Linked DNA regions of Homo sapiens: all the other regions are linked to region 2. The links are contacts of gene promoters, found by promoter capture Hi-C in blood cells and fetal thymus (Javierre and others, 2016). All regions are on one chromosome and are shown on one strand. Each heading gives the region's core, a stretch centred on a gene start or on the middle of the fragment in contact. The rest is flanking DNA. Distances are from core to core; before and after follow the strand shown. Region 1 holds the start of NOP58 (NOP58 ribonucleoprotein). Region 2 holds the start of INO80D (INO80 complex subunit D). Region 3 holds the start of WDR12 (WD repeat domain 12). Region 4 has its middle 5.1 kb from the start of NBEAL1. Region 5 holds the start of FAM117B (family with sequence similarity 117 member B).

Region 1 (2,700 bases), core at 74-2,573, 3.8 Mb after region 2:
TACGAATGTCTTACCATTCAACCATTTCAGTGCTGACGAACTTGTCAAACTTTCCCCACGAAAACAACCAAACCTCAAACTGACATCACCAGCCCAGATGTTTTCCCCTAAGCTTCAAATCTGAAATACTGAACTGCCCGATCTACACAACTGCATTATCAGGTCTAATAGACAACGCAAGCTTCGCACAGCCCAAACCGGAAATCTTTAGTCCTTCCCCAAGAAACTTTCTTAACATCTTATTTAAACCAAAACCCCACATTCAATCTATTAGCCAGTCCTTCCTGTTCTACCTTCACAATTTCTATCGATATTTGTTTCTCTCCATACCAGGCAATTTCATCTTGTCCAAATGAATGCAAAAGTATTCTTGCTGCCGTTCTTATCTCCTCGAGTCTAATCTCCACACAGCAGAGTAACCGTATTAAGACAAATTAGCAGGTCATTCCTCTGCTTAAATCCTTTCGATTGGCCGAGCACGGTGGCTCACGCCTGTAATCCCAGCACTTTGGGAGGCCGAGGCAGGTGGATCGCTTGAGGTCAGGAGTTCAAGACCAGCCTGGCCAACATGGTGAAACCCCGTCTCTACTAAAAGCAAACAAACAAACAAAAACAACTAGCCAGGCGTGGTGGTGGATGGAGGCCTGTAATCCCAGCTACTCGGGAGGCCAAGGCAGGAGAATCGCTTGAACCCGGGAGACGGAGGTTGCAGTGAGCCAAGATTGCGCCACTGCACTCCAGCATGGGCAACAAGAGCGAAACTCCATCTCAAAAAAAAAAAAAATCTTTCGATCATTCCTCAAAACATCTAGAATAAAGTCCGAATTCCCTATAATCTGTTAAATTCTAACACGCCTCCTGCCCACCCCTTCAACGGGAGGAAATAAAATCCTCTAATGCAGAACGGGTCTCCCCAAACGGCGGGGCCACGTGTTACACGTAACATGGCTCTCAGGTGTAAAGGCCTTCTCCCTCCTCCCAGAGCCCGGGCTATAACAGGCACCCACGCTACTCTGAGTAGTTCCGTGCTTAAGTCTTTCCCTCTCCTCGTCTGTCCAGCATCCGCCTTCCCCCTTTAACGGCTCGCTCTCCCACCTACCTTAAAGATGGCGTAACCCACAGACGTTTCAAACAGCACCAACATGGTGAGGCCGGGTCAGGGCGCCGCACGGCCTGCCAGAAGCTGTAGAGTCAGTTCAAAAACACCGACTACGCGGCCTCAAAAGGCCTCCTAGGCCGCGGCGGGCAAAGCACAAATGCGCTCGCCGTCCCGCAAAGAATCAGAACACGCTGCCTAAACCCTCCACGCTGTACTGGAACTAGGACGCACGAACGCGCTACTCCTTCTCTGAGGATTCTGGGATAGCAACGTCACTTCCGACAGAAGACTGCCGCAGAGATTGCCGTCACTTCCAGAATGTTCCCGCCACAGCGGGCTGGGGCGGGCCGAGAAAGTTTGTATCGCGGGATCTAGGGCCTGAACGGAGCCTTTGCGCCTTTTTTTCTTTTTTCTTTTTTTCTTTTTTGGAGACGGAGTCTCGCTCTGTAACCCAGGCTGGAGTGCAGTGGTGTGATCTCGGCTTACTGCAACCTCCGCCTCCCGGGTTCAAGAAATTCTCCTAGCCGGGCGCAGTGGCTCACGCCTGTAATCCCAGCACTTTGGGAGGCCGAGGCGGGCGGATCACAAGGTCAGGAGATCGATCGAGACCATCCTGGCTAACACGGTGAAACTCCGTCTCTACTAAAAATACAAAAAATTAGCCGGGTGTGGTTGCAGGCGCCTGTAGTCCCAGCTACTCGGGAGGCTGAGGCAGGAGAATGGCCTGAACCCAGGGGGCGGAGCTTGCAGTGAACCAAGATCCTGCCACTGCACTCCAGCCTGGGCGACAGAGCGAGACTCCGTCTCAAAAAAAAAAAAAAAAAAAGAAATTCTCCTGCCTCAGCCTCCCCAGTAGCTGGGACTAGAGGCACACACCACCACGCCCAGCTAATTTTTGTATTTTTAGTAGAGATGGGGTTTCAGCATGTTGGCCAGGATAGTCTCGATCTCTTGACCTCGTGATACGCCCGCCTCGGCCTCCCAAAGTGCTGGGATTACAGGCGTGACCCACTAGGCCCGGCCTTTTTTTTTTTTTTTTTTTTTTTTTTTTTTTTTTTTGAGACAGTCTGGCTGTTGCCCAAGCTGGAGTGCAGTGGCACTATCACGGCTCACTGCAACCTCCAACTCCCAGGCTCAAGCGATCCTCCCACTTCACCCTCCGGAGCAGCTGGGACTACAGGCCTGTGCCACCACACCCAGCTAATTTTTTGTAGAGACAGGGTTTCACGATGTTGCCCAGGCTGGTCTCGGACTCTTGACCTCAAGGGATCCTCCCACCTCGGCCTCCCAAAGTGCTGGGATTACAGGCGTGAGCCACCGCGCCCCGCCACCGCTAGAGATTTAAAGGGGAAAAACTTCACGATATTATTTTGTTAACCCTCTATGAATTATATGTTCACTTTGAGAGAAACGAGGAGCTGTTTCGGTGCCAGTCTGCCTCAGGCATCTAGAATTTGAAATGCCAGCTAGTGCCATTAGACTTTATCCCCTTTCAAGCCCTGCCTTGAGGCGAAGGCCTCAGAATGACACCATTACTGTCACTATATTTGTGAGCATTCCTGGCCGTTCCCTTCTGTCTGGCCAAATGAATTATTAGCACA
Region 2 (2,700 bases), core at 74-2,573:
AAAAATAACTTTTAATACAAGATTTAAATCATCATCCCCAGTAGAACATACAAAGATAGTCGGTTCTTTTTCTATTATTTTTCTCTTTCTTCACAAAAATAGAAAAATGTCTCTGCAATTTATCCTCCAATAAGCGTTCTATTGGAATCGATGTAAATGGGTACCCTTTGTCCCTCTCACCTCTGTGCTAACAGCATTGTTTAACTCTGATCCCATTTATCTAGTAAGCTTTGCTCATTTAAAAAAGTAAATTCATGACATCCACTGCAATATACAAAAAGTCTATCATACAGGCTGGCAGCACATTGGAAGTTCTGAACTAACATAACTAACAAAAATAGCCACATTTCTCAATTCTGTGACACAAAAAGCAGATAGCAACATGTGTAATGCACCAAAGATCTAGCTAGAGTTTAAAGAATCTAAATAAATAAAAAAATTAAATGCCCGGATATAATTCTTAATAAGCTATTTTACCTCAAGAAAAATCTAAGGCTGTCTTTAAAATCTCTTTCCAGTTTTACTGTATCCTTTCTGTATGGGCAGCATAACAGAATTTCCAGAAACAGGGGCCGTTTTTAAATCCCCAGTGATAGCTGCCTTTATCTGCACTGTGGAAAATGACACACTGTATCATGCCTTTCTGGACAGTCCATAGGTTTTATTTACATTGCTTTGAGAAACAGACGAAAGACATGTTTTTTTACAATTGTCTTACAGCAATCTGTTCTGAGAGTAACATGTAACACAAATTTTTATATGCAATATATGAAAACATAAATATTTATATATACAATAACATAACCAGACAAATAAATGAAGTTACTATTAAGTCTCTTTAAGTATAAATTTACAAACTGACCACCAGCCACAGAACTTAGCCCTGTAATGGAGAAAAATTATTACTGGCTTAAAAAAATATTAAAATATCACTGTCACTAACATGAAAAAAATTAAAAACAGAAAATAAAAAACAATAACCACCGGAAAACCTGTGTCTTGTAAAGATTTCTTTCCATCAGAAGATGCAGAAACATTTTTCCCCCTGGAGCAAATGAAAACGTTTCTCATGCACCCCCCGTTTCTTCCCTGCTTTCTCCCCCAGGCGCGGGTGTAGACGGCCGGTGTGGACTTTTTTCCAGAGATGAGAAGTAAAAATTTGTACTTTATCGGGAGCGGGTGCACTTTTCCCCCTGGCCCCCCTTTGCTCTGCCTCCAAGATGGTAGGAAAGTTGTCGTTTCGGAGGGCAGAGGAGCAGCTCTCTGGTGTTATGTCCTCGCAGTGCCTGTAGTGGTGCTGTAGGAGGCTGCTGCCTCTTCTTGTACAGCCCCGGCAGCCCTGCCTTCTTGGCTGGAGAGTATATTCAGGGATTTCCCCTTAATAATCACCGACCCTGGGAGCACTTTTTAGTTTCCAAAATAAAAATATGATCCTCACCCCTCTTGCTTGACAGGGAAAGGCTCTCGCCGGAGCCCAGGGGGGAGCAGTAGCAGCGGCAGCCGAGCTTCCTAGTCCATTGCCAGCGCCTCTCACTCTGATCTGTCAGCCCAGCCGAGGGAACAGGGGGGAAGGAGAAAAAAAAAAGCAGCTGAAAGGTAAGCAGAGGCGGCCCCAGGCCCGGCCCACATCCCCGGGCTCCCGTAGGGCGGCGGGCTGGGCCGCGCAGGCTGGGCGGGCGGCGAGCGCGCTTACGTGAGGCCGGGGATTCGCCGGCCCACGCCAGGCCCCGGGCGGAGAATGAAAGGGTGAGTGGGGCCGGCGCCCGGGTGGTGGAGGCCGGGGGCCTGAGGGCCTCCGGGGCGCCCGCGGGCGGCGACGGCGGGCGGGCAGGGGTCCAGCCGGAGCCGGAGTGGGGCGAGCGGAGCGGCCTGCGCGGGCCAGGTGGGGGTGTGCGGCGGGAGGGGGGGGCGCCGGTAGGCCTCGGGCCGGTAGGCCCCACGGCAGCCGCGCCCTGCCCCCGCACCCCGGGCCTCCGCGCGCCCCCTCGAGTCCCCCGGGGTCTCCGGGTGGGACGGCGGCGCTGCTGGGCCGAATCCCGCGCCGGCCCGGAGGCTTTCCCGCGGGGCGGCAGGCCCGGGCTGCCGGGACAGGGGCGTCAGGGCCTAGGAGTGGGGAGTGGGGAATGGGCGCCCGGCTCCCCTTCCCCCGGGTCTCTCGCAGACGGCCCCCAGATTCCGGTAAGAGTTGAATTTATTTATCCCCCTCCTCCGCGCTCCGGACGGCCAGGCCGGGGCGGGGCGGGGCGGGCGGCCTGGCGGGCGTGGGGTCGGGTGGAGGGGCGGTGAGGAGTCAGGTGCAGCCGCGGCCCAGAAAGTTTCCTTTTAGGCCCGAACTGGGGGCCGCTGTCTCTCCGGGGAGCCCTGGTCCTAGCGCCCGGGACCCCCCAGGGCGTGGGGGAGCGCACTCGGCTATTTTGAAACTCTTTGCCAGTTCCTGTCCATTGAAGAAGGTACTCCGCCCCTGCACCCCTCGCCCGCGCCCCACCCAACTCCCCGCGAGCCCATTCGGGGCTGCTAACTCCAGCCCCTTCCCCCTAGAGCCCCCCAGGTTGGGGAGAGGGCCTTCTCTTCCGGTTTGGAAAAGTTTGCAAGGGGCTTTTCTTAGCTTTATTAGTTAGTGACTGGGTTTTTGGGGTGGGAAGGAGGAGGTAAACTCAGGTGGTGTTTCTGCCGGACAATCTTTCCCTATTGCCTTTTTTA
Region 3 (2,700 bases), core at 197-2,696, 3.2 Mb after region 2:
TCACCTGCACACATACCGGTCTGCCCATAAATTTTGCAATCCAGTTCTGCCTGATTCTAAACTGCTTGTCTCTTGAAGCGAATGCCTTAAAAAGTGACATTGGGATCAGGATAGTTATCTCCATCCATCCTCCCTCAGAAAAACAACTATATTAGAGTAATTCTTGGGACCATTGAGAACAATACACAGGCCTTTGGGTAACTTCAAGACAAAAAAGGCAAAAAGTCGGGGAGAAGGTGTGGGAGGATGATTTTCCCCTTCTAAACGTAAGGTATAAAAGGGCTCAGAAAGCGGAAAAAGAACCCTAAAAAGCAAGGTGCGGGACGGCGTGAGGGACCACACATTGGGCGCTCCGCCCAAGGGGTCCGGCTCCTTCTCCGCGGCGATGGCGCGTCCTTGGGCTCAGCAACCCTCCTGAAGACACCTAACCTCCTCCTTCTCCAGCCTGCCCCTCTGGGGCCTGCGAGCCCCGTCCCGGGCCGGGGGTCGGAAGCCGTGCCATGTGGGACCCCGAAAAGGCCCCCAAGCTTGGCGCGGAAGGCGCCGCCAGTGACCGGCTGCGGCTGGGGGCGGAGGCCGGCAGTTGCTCGGAGCTCCGGCGGGTCAGGAGGTGACGGGAGGAGGAGGAGGCAGGAGGAAGACGGGGGGTTGGGAGGTAGCGTCCGGTAGGTCTGCGCAGACAGCGCTGCCAGACCTCTGACTCCCCCAGTCCTGCCGCCGCCGATAGCCCCACAAGGCGACATGGGAAGTCCGCCGGAGCAGAGGGGAGAAAATTCAAAACGAGTCTACTCAACCTCGTCTTGGCTCCGAGGCCCCGCCATGGAGACCAGCATAATGCGCAGGCGCGCCCCACCGGGAGCGCGCAGAGCAGTCCCACGACAGTAGGACCACTATCGGCCACCGTCGACCGTTTCCTCTCTCATCCGTTCTTTTCTTTGTATTTCCGCCTCTCGCCTCTCTCTAAAAGCCGCAGTTAGAGGCGAGATTTAGGAAAAACCTCTGCCGAGTGAGCCTCTGGTTGGGAATATGTATGAGAAAAAAAAACTGGCAAGGCGTTAGTCAAGCAAAGCTGAAGGCAGAGGAAATTTGATATCTGGCTGGAGTCTAGAGGATTTAATGCAAATAAGATACTCTGAGGGCAGCGTGGCAAAAAAAGACTACAATTCCCGGTGGTCACAGCGTTTGAGAAGCGATGCTTTCTGAGACTTGTAGTAACTAGGAGCTGTGTTTGAACTATCCAGGCTCAGGACAGCCTCTTGAAAAAAAATTTTTTATTAATAAAGCGGATTTGAGTGGGATCTTTTTCCTAATCGATTACGGGCCCACACGTATGGGAAGAATTCTAACAATGATTAAAGGGACATGCTACCTTTACGACTATCCTTTTCTAATCGATGACTCCTAAATCTAGGAGTAGGTAGTCGATGTTTGTGGTCTGGGCGTCTGTAGAAGGGCAACCTCGTGCTTTCTGCAGAGGAGACCGGAGGGCAGAAGGCAGAGTCCAGGCTTAGACTGCAGTTCCTCGCTTACCTGTGCAGTCTAATTTTGAGCTGCCTCTTTGTAGTCTTAAAAGGCAGGAGCTTCGTGTTGTGGGTCTGCTAACCCGTACGTTTCCGTGGGCAAGTCGTGTGTACTCCTCGCCATGGCTCAGCTCCAAACACGCTTCTACACTGATAACAAGAAGTAAGTAAGCGTTCCAGCCTTCTCTCCCTTCCCCAGGTTCCTTTCCGACCACCCCTTTGGTATGACCTTGTGGATCCCTGGTTGTTTCTGCTGTCACCCCCACCCTTTTTTCTGAGATTACCTGCTTTCTAACCAGCTTCGTAGGTTCTATATAATTTGAATTGTGAGTGTGGAGGAGGCTGAAGGGCTTCAGGTTTGCTTTCTGAATGAAACATTTTATATGTGTAATTTAAAAATGAACAGTGGGCCTTGTTATAGGGTGTCTGCTAGTGGTGGTTCACAGTTTTTGAAAACGGAAAAAAAGTTTTTGAAAATGAAAAAACATATTTACCATTTATGTATATCTATATAGATATATAAACATTTTAACCAGTGGTCTCAAGGTCTGTTAGCACTCATTCGAAAACTAATTATATGCTGCCTTGTGGTATATATTGCATTGTTAGCTTTCTTTGTGTTTGCCTGGTCTCTTCCAACTATATTGGAAGTCTCTTGAGGGCAGGGACTATATATTAATTAAGCTTCTTGGATTGGCTGAGTCAACAAAAAATGTCAAATTTTTCAGTGAAAATGATAATATTTGTCGTGTTAATAAGCTAAAGTTAGCCATAAACTAGGAAACTCCCACCTGAGTTACATCTGTGGTTTTGTTTGTAGCTTTATGAGGAGAGCTAGTAAATCATCTTCTCTCCCCTTGTGTTGTTGCTGAAAGTATACATAAATCGTATTATCAATGCACCTGAGTATATGTACTTACTTACATACATTGCCTTAATACTTCTCTAGGAATGTGGTGATGCATTAACATAACCACTGTGTTTTTTAATTGAAAGTAGGTTTTTTTGTTTTTCTTAAAATAAAATTTTTTGAAATATGTGGGGCTTTTTTTTGTTTGTTTGGTTTGGTTTTTTTGGAGACAGAGTCTCACTCTGTTGCCCAGGCTGGACTGCAGTGGTGGGATCTTGGCTCACTGTAACCTCTGTCTCCCGGGTTCAAACAATCTTCCCGCCTCAGCCT
Region 4 (2,700 bases), core at 37-2,536, 3.1 Mb after region 2:
GATTCCAGAGGACTGACCCTTAATAAACACACAAAGAACTAAAACATGTAACCTGTGTGTCCCTTCTTTCTGTCTCCTAGGAGATCTCAAGCTATGCATTGACAAGGAGAAACTCAGAAAACTTACCCGTATTGTCTCTAGGAGTCTACTAGTTGATTCTCTTTTCCGTATGATAATTCAACTAAGGCTGGTGCCCATCAAACTTCTGTGAACCAGGATTACCCCAGTTTAATATCTTCTTTCCCTTTTCCCTTAGACAAAATACCCAATGGATATTAGTAGAGAATTAAGTAGTTATTTTTCTGAAGGGTGCAAATGTTCCCTAAAGCTACAGAGAGTAAGGGGAGATGAGGAGTTATGCCTTTGTTTAGATAATTCTTTCCTTTGTACCACATACAAGGCAATAATTACAACACCACACTGCATGGGTTTAATAAGATGTCCCTCCTGGATAATCCCTAGTTTCTTGGTTCTCAGTTCGCCTGTGTCTCTTCCCCATAGTCCTGTCTTTAAACCATTCCCCTCTATAATGTCCGCATTATACTCACAGAATAAGAAAGGGTGGATCCCAGCCCCTTCTTAAGCCTGGCAAATTCTGCCGCATTTAGGTAACATCTAGGTGTCAGCTAGATGCCAACATTATTCCTCTGTTGAGGCTTCTGATGGCTCCCAGGAGTGGGGATAAGCTTTGGTTTCATGAGTGAGCCCCTCAACAACATTGAGATGTTTCTCTACCAATGAAACTACAGCTACTTTTTCTCCCAGTGTACCTTAAGATAAACACATTTACCGCCTTCAGAACATTTTCTTTCATAAGACTATATGACCCAGCAGCTTCTAAAATAGCCTGTCCTTTTATGTTAAAAGTATATATGTGGCCTGATTTTCATGAAAAAGGCCTCCACATTAATTTAAATGGTCTTGCACTCAGCGTCTCAGTTTATGTCAGAGCTATGAGTTTCAGTTCATCTCACCAGATATAACCTTAGAATGCCACTAAATTTATTAACAATGAAAAAATATACCTGCCAGCCGGGCATGGTGGCTTATGCCTGTAATCCCAGTACTTTGGGAGGCCGAGGCAGGTGGATCACTTGAGGACAGGGGTTCAAGACCAGCCTGGTCAACACGGTGAAACTCCATCTCTACTAAAAATACAAAAATTAGCCAGGCATGGTGGTGCACGCCTGTAAAATCCAGCTACTTGGGAGGCTGAAGCACGAGAATCTCTTGAACCCAGGAGGCAGAGGTTGCAGTGAGCCAAGAACTTGCCGCTACACTCCAGCCTGGTGACAGAGCAAGACTCTGTCTAAAAAAAAAAAAAAACAAAAAAAACAAAAAACCCTGGCAAGGCAATTGGACTATTCATATCTCTTGGTCAGGGCATTATCTCCCCATAGAAAAAAATGTATAGGGAAGTAAATTATATTCTCAGGGTTGCTTTTTCATCATGAGTCATAACAAGTACAACTAATTGGATTAATGTGATGGTAGTATCATCTTTTATAATAGCTTTCATGCAGCCATTTCCACTATGTGCAACCTGCCAATCGGAGCAGATACTTGGTTCTGCTAGATAGAGCAGTTTCCCTTGGGCAGATCTGGAGACATATGGTCAAGTTTTTGTTCTTTGACATTCCTTTCCTAAATCCCATCGAAGCTCTTTCTCTTCTATCCACACTTTCACACTTTTTTAGCTAGCCTGTCTATATGCATTCAGATTTTCTGATCTTTTCTAAAAAACACCTTTGGTTTTGCTGATTACCTTTATTAATTTCTTTTTTCAATTTCATTTATTTCTGCTCTAATTTTTGTTATTTCTTTTCTTCTGCTTACTTTGGATTTAATTTGCTCTTCTTTTTCTAGTTTCCTACAGTAGAAGCTTACTGACTTTAGATCTTTTTTTTTCTAATATTCAATGCTACAAAATTCCCTCTTGTTTTGGCTACATTCCTCAAATTTTCATCAGTTGTATTTTCATTTTCATTTATTTTAAAATATATTAAAATATCTCTTGAGTATCGGGGAACCTGCCCCCAATAGTCACATAGGTTCTTTTCTGTTTTCCCTAAGCGTCGGCCAGGTTGAGAAATAAAGGGACAGAGTACAAAAGAGGGAAATTTTAAAGCCGGGCATCCGGGGGAGACATCACATGTCGGTAGGTTCTGTGATGCCCCTGAGCCGTAAAACCAGCAAGTTTTTATTAGGGATTTTCAAAAGGGGAGGGAGTGTACGAATAGGGTGTGGGTCACAGAGATCACATACTTCACAAGGTAATAGAGTATCACAAGGCAAATGGAGGCAGGGCGAGATCACAGGACCATAGGACTGGGGCGAAATTAAAATTGCTAATGAAGTTTCGGGCACCATTGTCATTGATAACATCTTATCAGGAGACAGGGTTTGAGAGCAACCGGTCTGACCAAAATTTATTAGGCGGGAATTTCCTCGTCCTAATAAGCCTGGGAGCACTATGGGAGACTGGGGCTTATTTCATCCCTACAGTCTTGAACATAGAAAACGGCCACACCGAAGGGGGCCATTTTAGAGGCCCACCCTCAGGGGCGCATTCTCCTTCTCAGGGATGTTCCTTGCTGAGAAAAAGAATTCAGTGATATTTCTCCCATTTGCTTTTGAAAGAAGAGAAATATGGCTCTGTTCCGCCCGGCTCACTGGCAGTCAGAGTTTAAGGTTATCTCT
Region 5 (2,700 bases), core at 60-2,559, 3.5 Mb after region 2:
TGCCACTGCTAATGCATTCAGTACCCCAGATCTGAAACTGTTTTGTGAACAGAAATACTTAGCAGCAGCAGATATGGGCTATGCCAACATTAACCTTGTCCCTAAAACAAAGTGACAAACCACTCCTAGCCTCACCCTCAAGGGAGGGTAAGCAGTAACGACTCCTCCAGGAGTAAGGCCAGGAAGCCAGGTTTATCATTAACACTCATCAGCTCAAGCCCAAGGTTTAGCCGCTGCACCTCCACCACCAGGGAGCCGTGCGGGGCGGGCAGAGGGGTGAATGAGGCGGGCGGGCGGGCGGGGCGTAGGGTAGGCCCGGGAAAGGCGGGGCCGCACTGCCGGGTCCCCCACCGCCCGGCACCGCCCCCAGCCCCGCCCCCAGCCACCCGGGCTCCGCGGCAGCTCTGCAGTCCCCGCGCGATTGCAGCGCGCGCCCGGGACCCCTTCCCGCAGCCGCCTCCCCCTTGCTGCGCGACCCCCAGCACTTACCTGCTTTGCAAACCGGGGCGCTGGGGCTCCTCTTCTCCGGCGAGCTTCGGCTCTGCTCCGGAGACCTCCTCCGATGCCGGACGCGGGCTGGGGGTGGGGCCGCGCTCACCTCGCCGGTCCACAGGTGGGTGGGCGACGAGCTGGGCGACGACACGGTGCCCAGCAGCGGCGGCGGCGGCGGCGGCCGTGGGGGGCTCCCGCGAGCTCCAGGCGCGGCGCTGCGCGTGGGGCTGGTGCCTCGCGTGGACGTCGCGGACGCGCCCGTCTGCGTGGCCACCGTGGGGCTGGTGCGCGCGGCCGCGTTCCCGCCGCCGCGCGTGGGGCTGGTGCTGCGCGAGGCGGTGCGCGGGCCACCGCCGCCGCCGCCGCCTGCGGGGCCTGAGGCGCCACCACAGCAGCCACCGTTGTTGTTGCCGCCGCCGCCGCCGCCGCTCCGCGTGGGGCTGCCATGTTGCTGCTGCTGCTGCTGCTTCAGCTGGAACGGAACCGTCGCCCTCATGGGCTGCAAGCGGCTCCCGGGTCCCCCGGCCGTGGCCACCGCACCACCCCCAAGGGAGCCGGCCGGCGTGGGGGACCCATTGCGCCTCACCCGCTGGGACATGGTCCCCCCCCTCCCCGGTGACTGGGCGAGACGGGGGGTTTTGTTGTTGTTGGGCTGCAGGGGGAGGATTCTCGAGGCCGGAGGGCAGGCCCCCCAAGACGGGGTGACGAAGCCGGACTCCGGGGTGCAGGGGGAGACCGGGCCGGGGCAGGCAGCAACGAGGTGGTGCAGCCGCCGCCGCCGCCGCCGCCGCTCCTCATCAACAATAGTGTCTCCTCTGCTGCCCCCGCCCCCCACGATCGCCCATTGGTGCAGCGTCAGCCGCGCTCGAGCCGCTCCACTGCTCCCATTGGCTACGAGCAGCTCGGGTCCCGGGCCCCCGAGGCCTTGAGAGCCTGGGTGTGCGCGGAGACCGTCTGCTCTTTAAAGAGAAAGAGACCCGCCCCCCGCGGGGAGGGAGCGGAGGAAATGGGCCCTGTGTGTATGTGTAGTGTGCGCGCGTGTGTGTGTACACGTGAGTGCCCGTGTACGCGCGCGCCTAGCCACGCGCGCCTTTCCTTTCCCGCCGGGGGGAGCCCTGGGGACTCAGACTCTGGAAGGTTGCCAAAGGAAATGTCCAGACCCGGAGCAGTTCCCAGGGATGGTCTGAAGCCTTTTCCGCATAACTCATTTCCTTACCCCAGTGTTCACTTGTGTTCACCTGTACGCGCATCTCGTTCGGGCTTTTATTCTTAATGTTTTTGTTCTGCCCTAATTCCATCTACCTATGGGCAGGGCTCAAAAGGAGAAGAAATTTAACTAATCTTACTGGCATTTTACGCCCCTCTCCTTTTATTTTTTAGAGCTCTACAAAGAGGCAAATCTCAGAAAGATTAAACTTGCCTGTTAGAATGCGATTTTAGATAGTATCTATAGAGTTCAGTTACCACATGTTATTCCTACCCTCCTGTATCTCAAGTAATCAAGACTATTTTAATCAGCTGCTTCGCTGTTCCCTGATACCTTGGAAGGATGGCTGCTACCTTACCAGTTTGTAAAGTGCTATAGTTTACAGAGGGCCTTATTTGATTCTACACGATCATTGTTTGAGACAGAACTGGGACAGCCATCCATATTTTTGTCTAGCGGAGGAAACAAGTCTTTGGTGTGGCAAAGACTCGGGAAGGCAGGCAGTGACACTATTTCTAAAATGACCTAAAGGGCTCCTCATCAAGAAAATAAAAAATGGTGGAGCCAAAACCTACACTCCCACCTGTCTGGCTATAAATTGCCTATCCATGACCTCTTTTCCCTCTACTATTTTTATTAGTTGTACATGCTAGACAGATTTCGTCGTGTAAAAATGTGGGAGTGGAGGGCATAGTATGATTCACTCTGGACCTGAAATCCTACTGGGTCCCTTTGCGCGGTGGTGGAAGGCCTTTTTTTTTTTTTTTTGAGAAGAAGTCTCTCTCTGTCACCTAGGCTGGAGTGCAGTGGCGGAGTGCACTGGCTCGAATCTCGGCTCAGTGCAACCTCCGCCTCCCGCGTTCAAGCAATTCTCCTGCCTCCGCCTCCCAAGTAGCTGGGATTACAGGCGCGTGCCGCCACGCCCCGTAATTTTTCTGTTTTTAGTAAAGAGGCGGTTTCACCATGTTGGCCAGGGTGGTCTTGATCTCTTGATCTCATGA

The links. The method cuts DNA at HindIII sites, captures the fragments that hold promoters and counts their contacts. A CHiCAGO score of 5 or more calls a contact.
Region 1: a contact is called between the fragment with the promoter of NOP58 here and the fragment with the promoter of INO80D in region 2, in 2 of 17 cell types (fetal thymus and non-activated CD4 T cells). The highest score is 8.9, in fetal thymus.
Region 3: the fragment with the promoter of WDR12 here is called in contact with the fragment with the promoter of INO80D in region 2 in 2 of 17 cell types (total CD4 T cells and non-activated CD4 T cells); the score reaches 9.8 in total CD4 T cells.
Region 4: a fragment that was not itself captured here is called in contact with the fragment with the promoter of INO80D in region 2 in 2 of 17 cell types (fetal thymus and activated CD4 T cells); the score reaches 5.9 in fetal thymus.
Region 5: the fragment with the promoter of FAM117B here is called in contact with the fragment with the promoter of INO80D in region 2 in 2 of 17 cell types (fetal thymus and total CD4 T cells); the score reaches 10.0 in fetal thymus.

The regions. Positions count from the first base shown.
Region 1 is chr2:202,264,386-202,267,085 of GRCh38, reverse strand. NOP58 (NOP58 ribonucleoprotein) reads right to left here and starts at 1,323. Exons shown (of 15, transcript NM_015934.5): 1 at 1,100-1,323. The coding sequence starts at 1,144. The HindIII fragment of the contact is 14,423 bases long and covers 184-2,700 here.
Region 2 is chr2:206,084,797-206,087,496 of GRCh38, reverse strand. It overlaps INO80D (INO80 complex subunit D), which reads left to right and starts at 1,323. Exons shown (of 11, transcript NM_017759.5): 1 at 1,323-1,596. It overlaps INO80D-AS1 (INO80D antisense RNA 1), which reads right to left. Exons shown (of 2, transcript NR_186084.1): 2 at 1-1,540. RefSeq lists enhancers at 1,067-1,176, 1,187-1,236, 741-1,560, 1,287-1,576 and silencers at 1,627-1,836, 1,917-2,086, 2,107-2,306, 2,347-2,396, 2,298-2,592. The HindIII fragment of the contact is 4,007 bases long and covers 231-2,700 here.
Region 3 is chr2:202,910,419-202,913,118 of GRCh38, reverse strand. It overlaps WDR12 (WD repeat domain 12), which reads left to right and starts at 1,446. Exons shown (of 13, transcript NM_018256.4): 1 at 1,446-1,683. The coding sequence starts at 1,643. CARF (calcium responsive transcription factor) reads right to left here and starts at 844. Exons shown (of 17, transcript NM_024744.17): 1 at 17-844. RefSeq lists enhancers at 564-613, 714-913, 954-1,103, 1,114-1,263. The HindIII fragment of the contact is 1,677 bases long and covers 530-2,206 here.
Region 4 is chr2:203,008,397-203,011,096 of GRCh38, reverse strand. No RefSeq gene overlaps it. Among named protein-coding and RNA genes, the nearest start is that of NBEAL1, 5.1 kb to the left of the region's middle. The HindIII fragment of the contact is 1,196 bases long and covers 689-1,884 here.
Region 5 is chr2:202,633,578-202,636,277 of GRCh38, reverse strand. FAM117B (family with sequence similarity 117 member B) reads right to left here and starts at 1,309. Exons shown (of 8, transcript NM_173511.4): 1 at 490-1,309. The coding sequence starts at 1,090. RefSeq lists silencers at 262-701, 802-851, 1,042-1,271. The HindIII fragment of the contact is 4,588 bases long and covers 1-2,700 here.